Regions from separate parts of the Homo sapiens genome. Here all the other regions are linked to region 2. Evidence: promoter capture Hi-C in human tissues and cell types (Jung and others, 2019). All regions are on one chromosome and are shown on one strand. Each heading gives the region's core, a stretch centred on a gene start or on the middle of the fragment in contact. The rest is flanking DNA. Distances are from core to core; before and after follow the strand shown. Region 1 overlaps LOC105375716 (a long non-coding RNA gene). Region 2 holds the start of SAMD12 (sterile alpha motif domain containing 12). Region 3 overlaps LOC105375716 (a long non-coding RNA gene).

What was found. The method cuts DNA at HindIII sites, captures the fragments that hold promoters and counts their contacts. A contact is called where the count stands out against the background at its distance.
Region 1: a contact is called between a fragment that was not itself captured here and the fragment with the promoter of SAMD12 in region 2, in 1 of the 25 tissues and cell types used here (lymphoblastoid cells).
Region 3: a contact is called between a fragment that was not itself captured here and the fragment with the promoter of SAMD12 in region 2, in 1 of the 25 tissues and cell types used here (spleen).

Annotation. Positions count from the first base shown.
Region 1 is chr8:117,365,084-117,368,336 of GRCh38, forward strand. The region is part of intron 4 of LOC105375716 (a long non-coding RNA gene); the gene reads right to left. Among named protein-coding and RNA genes, the nearest start is that of MED30, 150 kb to the right of the region's middle. The HindIII fragment of the contact is 4,121 bases long and covers 1-3,253 here.
Region 2 is chr8:118,620,713-118,623,981 of GRCh38, forward strand. It overlaps SAMD12 (sterile alpha motif domain containing 12), which reads right to left and starts at 1,251. Exons shown (of 4, transcript NM_207506.3): 1 at 1,092-1,251. The coding sequence starts at 1,104. SAMD12-AS1 (SAMD12 antisense RNA 1) reads left to right here and starts at 289. Exons shown (of 5, transcript NR_038210.1): 1 at 289-474; 2 at 823-943. RefSeq lists enhancers at 244-293, 324-533, 1,144-1,343 and a silencer at 1,444-1,593. The HindIII fragment of the contact is 2,703 bases long and covers 837-3,269 here.
Region 3 is chr8:117,301,628-117,304,741 of GRCh38, forward strand. The region is part of intron 4 of LOC105375716 (a long non-coding RNA gene); the gene reads right to left. The region is part of intron 4 of LOC105375717 (a long non-coding RNA gene); the gene reads left to right. Among named protein-coding and RNA genes, the nearest start is that of SLC30A8, 170 kb to the left of the region's middle. The HindIII fragment of the contact is 3,734 bases long and covers 1-3,114 here.

The DNA of each region.
Region 1 (3,253 bases), core at 265-2,764, 1.3 Mb before region 2:
GCCAGTTGTGTTGACCTAATAATGAATCCTGAATGCTAGTACCATATTTTCTTGATTATTTGAGCTGTACAATAAGTCTTAAAGATGGATAGTGAAAGGTCCTTCAATTTTGTTCTTCCAAGATTTCCTTGGAGGTTCTAGGTCCTTTACCTATATATTTCAGGATAAGCTGGTGTCAATTTCTAATAAAACACCTTCAGCAATCTTGAAACTCATTGATTCTATAGATCATTCTGGGGAATATTGCCAACTTTAAAATACTCAATCTTCCAGTTCAATAATACAGGATACCTATCCACTAACTTAGCAGCTTTGCAATTTCACTCAGCAAATTTTTTGCAGTTTTAAAAATATAGGTCTATATCATTCAGCTTTAAAAAGGAAGAAAATTTTGACATATGCTGCAATATGAATGAACCTTGAAGACATTATGCTAAGTGAAATAAATTAGTGATGAAAGGGCAAATCAATTAGCAGTAATGGCAAGATCACTGCTGTTCAACCCAAGATTATCTTAACAGTCAGACTTGAGAGTAGTGGGATGGCTGTCTTGGAGAGTAGAGAATACCACATTTTTTTCTGGAAGGTTCCAATGGAGGTGATAAAGCAGCACTCACATGGAATATTATTCAGCCTTGAAAGGAAATTCTGACACATGCTACACAAGGGTGAACCTTGAGGACATTATGCCAAGTGAAATAAGCCAGTCACAAAGGGCAAATATTATGTGATTCCACTTTTATGAGGTACCTAGGGCATCCAAATTTATAGAGACAGAAAATCAAACAATGGTTTTCGGGGGGTAGAGGGAGGGAGAAAATGGGGAGTTATTGTCTAATTGGTACAGAGTTTGTGATGATGAAAATGTTCTAGAGACGAACAGTGAAGATGGTTGCACAACAGTGTGAATGCACTTAATGCCAATAAACTATATACATACAATGATTAAAACAGAAAATTTGTCATTATGTCTATTGAACCAGAATTAAAAAGTAGCAAATTTTTTCATTAGGTATACCTAACCACAGTAAAAAAGTACAAGTCTTCATTTTTTAAAATGATACCATTTTGAAAAAAGAGTACTAGTTTAGATGCTATTTTGAAAATAGATACTATTTTGAAAATAGTTTAGATACTATTTTGAAAAAAAATTTTTAATTTTTAAATTTTGTTTTCTAATTTTTTTATAGTATATAAACCCACAATTTTTATTTATACTAACGTCGAATGCAGTGACGTTGCTAAATTTACTTATTAATTCTATTATTTTTCAAAGTCCTTAGAATATTCCATGTAGACAACGATATCAGCAGCAAATAGAGGGTTGTATTTCTTGCTCTAAAATTTATAGCTGAAATTAATTTTTCTGATTTCAGTGCTTAATAATACCAGCAGTGAGCTAGGAATTCCTTGCCTTATTCCTGATTTTGGAAAGAAATCATTCAATGTTTCACTGCTAAGTGATATGTTAGCTGTAGGTGTTTTTTGATACCCCTTATCAGAGTGAGGAAGTTTTCATTTATTTCTAGTTTAAATTTTTTTTAATCAGAAACAATGTTATTAAATCAAGTTTAGCCTAAAGTTGCCACCTTACACATTTTAAGTTCACTCTACAAGTTTCTCCATACACAGTGAACTGTGACCTAACTGGATGTGTAAACAGACTATAGCCTACCCTTATACCAATCTCTGAGCTTCATTCAATCAAAGGCGACCAACTTTTCAAACCCTGTTTAAATAAGGCAAACACCGACCTGTAACCAATTCAGCAGTTTCTGTACCACACGTCCATTTTCTGTACATCACTTTGCATTTTCTATCCATAAATGCTCTCTGGCTATGTGGCAGTGCAGAGTCTCTCTGAAACTATTCTGGTTTCAGGGGCTGCCTGATTTGTGAATTGTTCTTTGTTCAATTAAACTCTGTTAAATATAACTTGTCTAAAGTTGTTCTTTTAACAGTGTTAAATTTCATCAAATACTTTTTTCTGCATCAACTAAAATTATCACATGATTTTTTTCTTTTATTCTATTGTTATGATGAATTAAACTGACTGACTTTCAAATGTTATACTAACCTTGCATTTCTAGGATAAACCCCACTTGGTCATGATATAAAATCCTTTTTATATAGGGCTAGAATTGATATTTTGCTAAGGATTTCTGTATCCATGTTCAAGAGCGATATTGATCTGTAGTTTCATTTATGTATTTGTTTTGTAATTTCTTTGCTGGGTTTTGAATAGAGTTTTGAAGGCCTCAAAAGAAGTTTGGAAGTATTCTTTTTCTACTTTCTGAAAGAGATTGCATAAAATTGGTAATAATTATTCCTTAAATATTTGATAGCATTCACTAGAAACCCACCTGGCCCAGGAATTTTCTTCATGTGAAGATTGTTAACAGCAAATTCAACTTCTTTAACAGAGGTAGAACTATTGATATTTTCTGTTTTATCTTGTGTCAGTTTTGGTAAGCTTTATTTTCAAGGAATGTGTTTGTTTTAATTAAATTTTGACCTAAGTTTGTTTATAATATTCTTACTGTTCACTTAATATTTGTAGAATCTGCAATGATAATCCCTCTTTCATTCCTGATATTACTACTTTATGTTCTTAATCTTTTTTCCTCTATCAGTCTATCAATTTTGCTCATCTTTTCAAAGAATCATCTCTTCATTTAATTTTTCCTCATTTCTCTGATTTCTCTTTCATTGACATTTAATCTAATATTTATTAGAAAATCTTTGTGTTTACTTTGCTTTTCTTTTTGTTGTTTCTTAAAATAAAACTTAAGTAATGGATTTTAGACCTTTAGTTTCTAATATAGGCATTTATTTTTTACATATCTAAAAAATTTTAATTTGTTGTATTTTTATTATCCAGCTCAAAATAATTATTTTATGCTTTATTGACCTGTATTATTTAGATGTGTGTTTAATTTTCAAATGTTTAGAGTCTTCTAGATTGTTATATTTCAATTGCATAATCAGATAAGTTACTCTGTATAATCTACCTAACTAAAGATTTGTTGAATTTGTTTTTATGGTCTATCTTGTTGATTTGAAATTATTTTTATGGTCTATCTTGTTGAATGTGTCACGTGCACTTGGAAGAGAATGTGTATTCTGTATATCTTGGGTGTGTTGTACTATAAACATCAATTAGACCAAGGTAGTTTATAGTGTTTGTCAGATTATCTATATCTTTACTAATATGTTTTGTTTAGTTTTTTAATCAATTGCTAAGAGACAAGTG
Region 2 (3,269 bases), core at 1-2,500:
GCAGCAAGCCAGCCTCGTGGCCTTCTCGTCTCTAGCCTACAAGGAATAGGCTGATTTCCCCTTGGCAAGGCGCCTGAAGCAGCTGGCAGGCAAGCCCTCCTCTTCCTACTTCAGTACGCCCTCTGACCTGACTGCACTCAGAAACCAAAATTCTGCAGGTGAATGTAGGCTCCCATTTCGTCCCACAATCATTTCATCATTCAGGCACAGCTTGACCTCTAATGTGACATCACAAACCCTTCCGGTCCACAGTTTTTTTTTCTTCTTCAGAAACTACCTAAACAAGGAAGTTTGTGTTCCAAGGTAAGATAACCTGAAATGAAAAACTCAGGATCCCTCACGAACAGCCTGACCCTGCTTTCAACCAGGAAGTTCAAGGGAGGCAGGACTTTACGGTCAAAACTGCAAAGCCGAAGCTCAAGACTGTAAGAAGAAAGTGATCTTCAAAGAAAAGGATTCACCCAAATCGAAGAGGTTGTTGCACTTCTTTTCCCTGGCTGATTACATTTCATGTCTGTAAACTTTGCTAAGCCCGGGGCGCTGGCTGTATAAGCAGAGACAGGTGTAGGGACACCTCTACCCTCTGGGTACATCTGCGGCCGCCGCTGCTGGGTGCATAGGACGAAGGGCCCTCGACCCAATCCCAGTCCAAGCTTCCGGATGACGCACCTGGGCTGGGGACCTCTCCCACGTGAGGGGGGCCAACCAAGCATCCCCAGCCCCGGGGCCACCCAGCCTGCTCCGGAGGGAGGGGGCAGGGAAAAAGGGCATCTCGGGGCCAAAACCTCATGCCGGATCCTCCGGCTTTCCCCCCATTTCCAGGATATCGTTTCGCATCAGGGACACTCGTCTCCACACCTCCTACCTCAAAGTCCTACGCACCTACCCTTCACGTCTCTCCAAAGCAACTGAATTAAAGCGCCTACTGGCCTTGGCGGCGCAGGTGAGTGCCAAGAGGTGGAGGAGGAAGGGGCCCGCTCTCCGCCACCCCCTTTCCTCGCCTCCCCACGATCGCCAAGCTTCATCGGGGATGTGTGCCTTGGGGTGCGCGGGTTAAGAGGGAGCTTAAAAATGCCCCAAGCGTCCCTTACCTTCCACAGCCATTCTCTCAGAGCTTCCCTAACGCATGCATAATTTTCTTGGCCGAGGTACTCCTCCTGCCCCGCGCTCCCCCCTTCCTCTCGCTTTCGCCTAAATATTCTGCGCTTATCTGCTCCAGGACCAACCTGCCGCGGTCACGCAAAGCGAGGCAGCCGGCTCCCGGCTCGGCGCGCGCAGGGCGTCCTGGGAAGTGTAGTTCCCTCCCTTCGCTCGGACTGGGGAGAGCACCCCGACTCCTCCGCGGAGTGCCGCCTGGCCCCGACACTTGGAGAGCAACTCCAGCTTCAGCTGGCCAGGCCGAGCAATCTCTCCTGGGGAAGTTGTGAGGGGACCAGGGATGCCTGGTTGTGGCGGGGCGGGGGGGGAGGGGGGGGGGGTTCCCGGGAAGCGGTCTGGACTACATCTCCCAGGAGGCCGTGCGCTGAGATAGGTTCGCTGCTAAGAGTAGGGACCCGTGATTGAGCCCTTCCCTGTCCATTACAAGGGGTTTGGCACCTAGCAGGTGTGGTGAGGTGGGCAGGTGACGGTCAGCTGTGTGATGAGCTCCTGCGAGCTCGTCCGTGGGCCTCTGCCGCCGGTACCGCCCCGCCCCCTGGCCTCCTGAACCACCATTTAGTAGGGAGAGCAGGACCACTGTCCTCCTGTGTGGTTCTCCACCTGGGCCAGAGAACGCTGCCCAGGGTGAGGTTGAAACTTGTTCCTTCGCACCCTGAGATGTATGGGTTTTGTGGGGGAATTCCGACGGTTGATACAGTTGTCTTATCCTACAGGGTGGTTCAGGTGGCTAAATACTTGGCATGGGGGTGTAGGGGAGGAGGAGTGGCTTAAACCCCAATAGGCAACGTCCCCAAGGGGTTGTTAGGAACAAAGTCTGGGAGCCAGGATTGCACCGGAGGAGGTCAGATGAAAGCCTGTCTGGCTTCCAGGATAGGAGGCTTTCAATTTGCCTAGACTTGGAGCCTGTTGACAGCCTGTGATAGGGCCTAATAATTAACAGTGCCTGAGAATCAGGTTCCTTCAACTTCTGAACCTATGTCCTAGCTGTAGGTGCTGGGGATGCTATAAGCAGACATGATAATGGGAATCACGTGGATAGCAATACAATTCGACAGCTCGTAAAAATTAAGTTTCTAAACATTTTTTCCTGCGTGTGAAAATACGGATACAGTTGTGGCTGGAAGGGGTAAGGGAATAGCCTCGGGAATAAATCTGGCTCAAGACTGGATTGACTTTTAAAGGCCTTCAGTTTACAAATGTATTTGGTACCACATCCACCCAGTCACTCATATATAATGTTAATCTCTGTAAAATGAGGAAGTACAAAAATCGGATTCTTCCCATGATGACTACTTAGACATTTTTGTGTGTCTTGGTCATCAGCAAAAAAAAAAAAATGTTTTTCAAAACAATTTCGTTTCTCAGTGTATACATGCACACCTGTTGTTCTGGTCACTAATTACATGCTTAGTTCCCCTACTGGGTAATATATAATAATAATATGTGTATAGGTACTTTAAAAAATACCTGCGTGTAACCATTAAATGCTCTTGTTGATACTTTAATTCTGAGTCCATGGAGCTGTGTACAAGTCAAACCTAAGCCTCTCTTTTAGGTACAGTAGAGAGAGACCCATTCAGTGAGACATAATTTCCATGGGAAAAAGAATTTTCCGACCTAATACACAGCCAAGCATTCTAAACTCTGGAAAGAACTGAAATCCAGGTGCTTCACTACTTTATGTATATAAAATCACCAAAGTGTTAAGTATTTTCTGAGATTGAATGAATGTGAAAGAAAGCCATAGGACAGGTAGTATCAATGGTTCTCAACCTTGGCTGTGCATCAGCCTTCTACAAATATATATTCCTAAGCTTTTATCTTAGTCTCACAGAATCAGAGCTTATGGGGGTTTGGGTAGAGGCACTCAGGTTTTAAAAACCCACAGGTGATTCCAGTCTTCATTGAGGGTGAAAACCATTGGTCTGGTTCCAAGCTTTTAAATATCTGGGTGATATAAAAATATAAAAGTCATTGAAATCTGTGGTTAATTTTAAAACTTCATCTTAGCTCATCTTTAATATTTTTCCCAGTGATGTGCATTCTAGACGAGTTTTATTTTTAGTATAAATAAAATGTGAAGGAGATGTTAGTTTCTACCATATGAAATA
Region 3 (3,114 bases), core at 485-2,984, 1.3 Mb before region 2:
TCTGTTGTCCTCACTAGATCTTAAGCATCATGAGAAGAGGGACTGTGCCTGTTTTGTTAACTCTGTTATCAGCAGTGCCTAATGTACTGCCACCACACAGGACCTCAGCAAATGTTTACTAAGGACATACAAACAGCAGGTCATTGCTGTATGTATATTTAATGTAAGGTTTCCTAGCTATTAGGGATACTCTCAGTAATATATCCAATTCTCACATTATAGAATCCAGTTACTCTACTATTTTTTCAGCTCTACTTGCTTGCAATATTATGAGAATGTCTCCAGAAGGAGAGGATTTTAGATGAAACTCAACCTAATTATTTTTTCTCTCTCTTTTTTTTAATTTTCATAATACCAATGGTAGGAGATTCCGAAACTATGTGTCAAAAGTACCTTTAGAAATTATAAAAATTATAGTTGTATTTCATTTTACTCGACAAATATTTTCAAACAGCTTTTTGTGGAGGTATCAATGTTATGGTTGTTGAACTGACCCCAAGCAAATTTTTGTCCAGGTGAAGTGATGAGGTTTATATAAAAATGACTTTTAAAAATAATATCATATGTAGTCAAAATTCAAAATATATAATAGAAGCAAAAATCAGTCAACAGAAATCATCTATTAAGAAGAAAACAATGTTCTTTAAGCCCCCTGAAGATTGGAAAACAGTAACTTTTTGGCATCCTGTTGTGGTATGCAGACCTGGCATATTACCTTATGAAAAGTAAATGATCCATGAATGTTGTTTGAATGAATGAATTGAATTAATGAATATTCATTAAATAACCATAGTTTCATGCTATTTACATTCTAACAAAGCATACTGCACATTATCAGGGTTTAGAATTAACTTTCTGCCTAGTATTATACACAGTTAATGGCAAAATAATCTCTGCAGTCTCCCCAGATGAAGGCCAAGAGGTTATTCTTGAGAATATAGTTAATCCTCACTTAAGGTCGTCACTAGATTCTGGGAAACCGTGACTTGAAGTGACATAATGCATAACGGAACAATTCCTTTTCCTCATCAACATTTTAACAAACTATGTTGAACAAAAGGATGTTATTAGAGGACCTGCTGTACATTGTGTCACTCGAAGTTGCAGTTTCCAAGAACCTATCAACGACTTCACGTGAGGAGTTCCTGTATTGCTATCTTACCCCACATATATAATTAAATCTCCAAGTATCCTTTCTATTCGCCTAATAACCCTTTCCCATTGACCGGCTTCTGTCTATCCCCTGGCTGCTCTTTAGTTGTGGCTATCAGAAATGCTGAGCTTAACTTGCTCCCCTCTTGGCTCCCTCTAACCTGTTCTCTAATTGCCACCAGAATGACCTGTCTAAAGAGCAAATGTGACCAGGACATTGTACATTGGCTTTCTTGGCTCCCCACGGATATGGTAAATTTAGGCTAATGCAAGACGCTTTTTAATCTGGTACTTGCTCTCCTTCCCTGCTCCTCCATTGTCATCATTGTCTATATTTCAGCTAGACAACTTCTTAAGTCCCCAAGTGACAGCACTGTCTCTCATTTTAGTTGGGTTATATTCTTCTCATCTCTAGGTTGGACTCTTGGTTAGAATTTTCCTTTCCTGACTATTTGCCTGGCTCACTCTTAGTTGTCCTTGAGATGTCCTTGTGGTCTTTACCCCCATGAGAAAGTTTATCTGTGATGCTAAAGAGTCCTGTAACCTAATTGTAGCAATGATCACCTGTCTTAATTGCCTACCTGCCTGTGTCTCTCATACCTCAATTGTAAGCTTCTTGCAGGGCCTATGTTTCATTTATGGTTGTATCCCTAGCACCTATTTCACGGTAGGAGCTAGTGAGTAAGTAAGGCAAGTATATTAAGATATATACTGAAGGCTGGGCGCGGTGGCTCATGCCTGTACTCCCAACACTTTGGGAGGCAGACGCAGGCGGATCACAAGGTCAGGAGATCGAGACCATCCTGGCCAACATGGTGAAACCCCGTCTCTACTAAAAATACAAAAACTTAGCCAAGTGCAGTGGTGCGTGCCTGTAATCCCAGCTACTTGGGAGGCTGAGGCAGGAGAATCGCTTGAACCCTGGAGGTGGAGGTTGCAGTGATCCGAGATCATGCCACTTGTACTCCAGCCTGGGCGACAAAGCGAGACTCAGTCAAAAAAAAAAAAAAAAAAAAAAAAAAAAAGATACACACTGAAGGGAAGAGAAAATGAATGAGCAAATAACAATCGTGGCAGAGAACAGGATTTATTCATTACAAGTAGCCTTGACCTCTTGTATCATTCCCAGTAGAAGCCGAGACTCCCAAACCCAGGCATATTTAGGACCTTCTTCAAACAATTGCCAGTACCATGGTGCTGGGGAAAAACAAAACAAAACAAACAAACAAAACAAAACCTTTCAGACACCTTAAACTAAAGCTGCTCTGTCATCTTGCAGACCCACCCTGGAGTCCAACAGGACAATTTTCAAAGCCACCCATCCTGGCAAAGTGCTTGACAAGCTGCAGGAGAACAGCATTCAGGATTGCAATTAGAGTTGGAAGAGAGGAGGAGGAGACAGGGGTCACTGGGCCAATCAATACTCAGCTACCCTCTCCCCCCACCCCCTCACCGCCGGTGTTCAGAGAAATGCCAAAGCTTGCCGCTTAATCGCGGTTCCCATTTTAGGTAGTGCACTCCTGCCATCTAGTGGTTCCCCCACGCTCTCCACAATGCCTTCAGCAGAGATGGATTTCATGTGCTGAAAACCCAGCAAAGGCAGAACCAAACCAAAAAGCCAGACTTAAAAGAGTGCCCTAAAAGAGTGCCCAAGTGCAATCAAAATCCACCTAGAGAACCACAATAGCATTTGGGTTCCTTTGTGACTGTTGAGAAGTGATTATCTTAGCTGGTGCGGAATGCCATAGAAGGTCCAAGTCTTGAATCATGGTGTCAGTCAAACTGGTAATCAGATTTGAAAACTGGTTTTTATTTCACTAGGAAATAGGAAATGATTTTAGTTTATCATGGATTGAATGTGTCTTTTTGCCCCTTCTTCTCCTAAATGATTCTAAATGTGTTGTGAATTGCCTAGAAATTATTCTTACCCAACAGTGAACTAGAGAATTACAAAACTGAAGA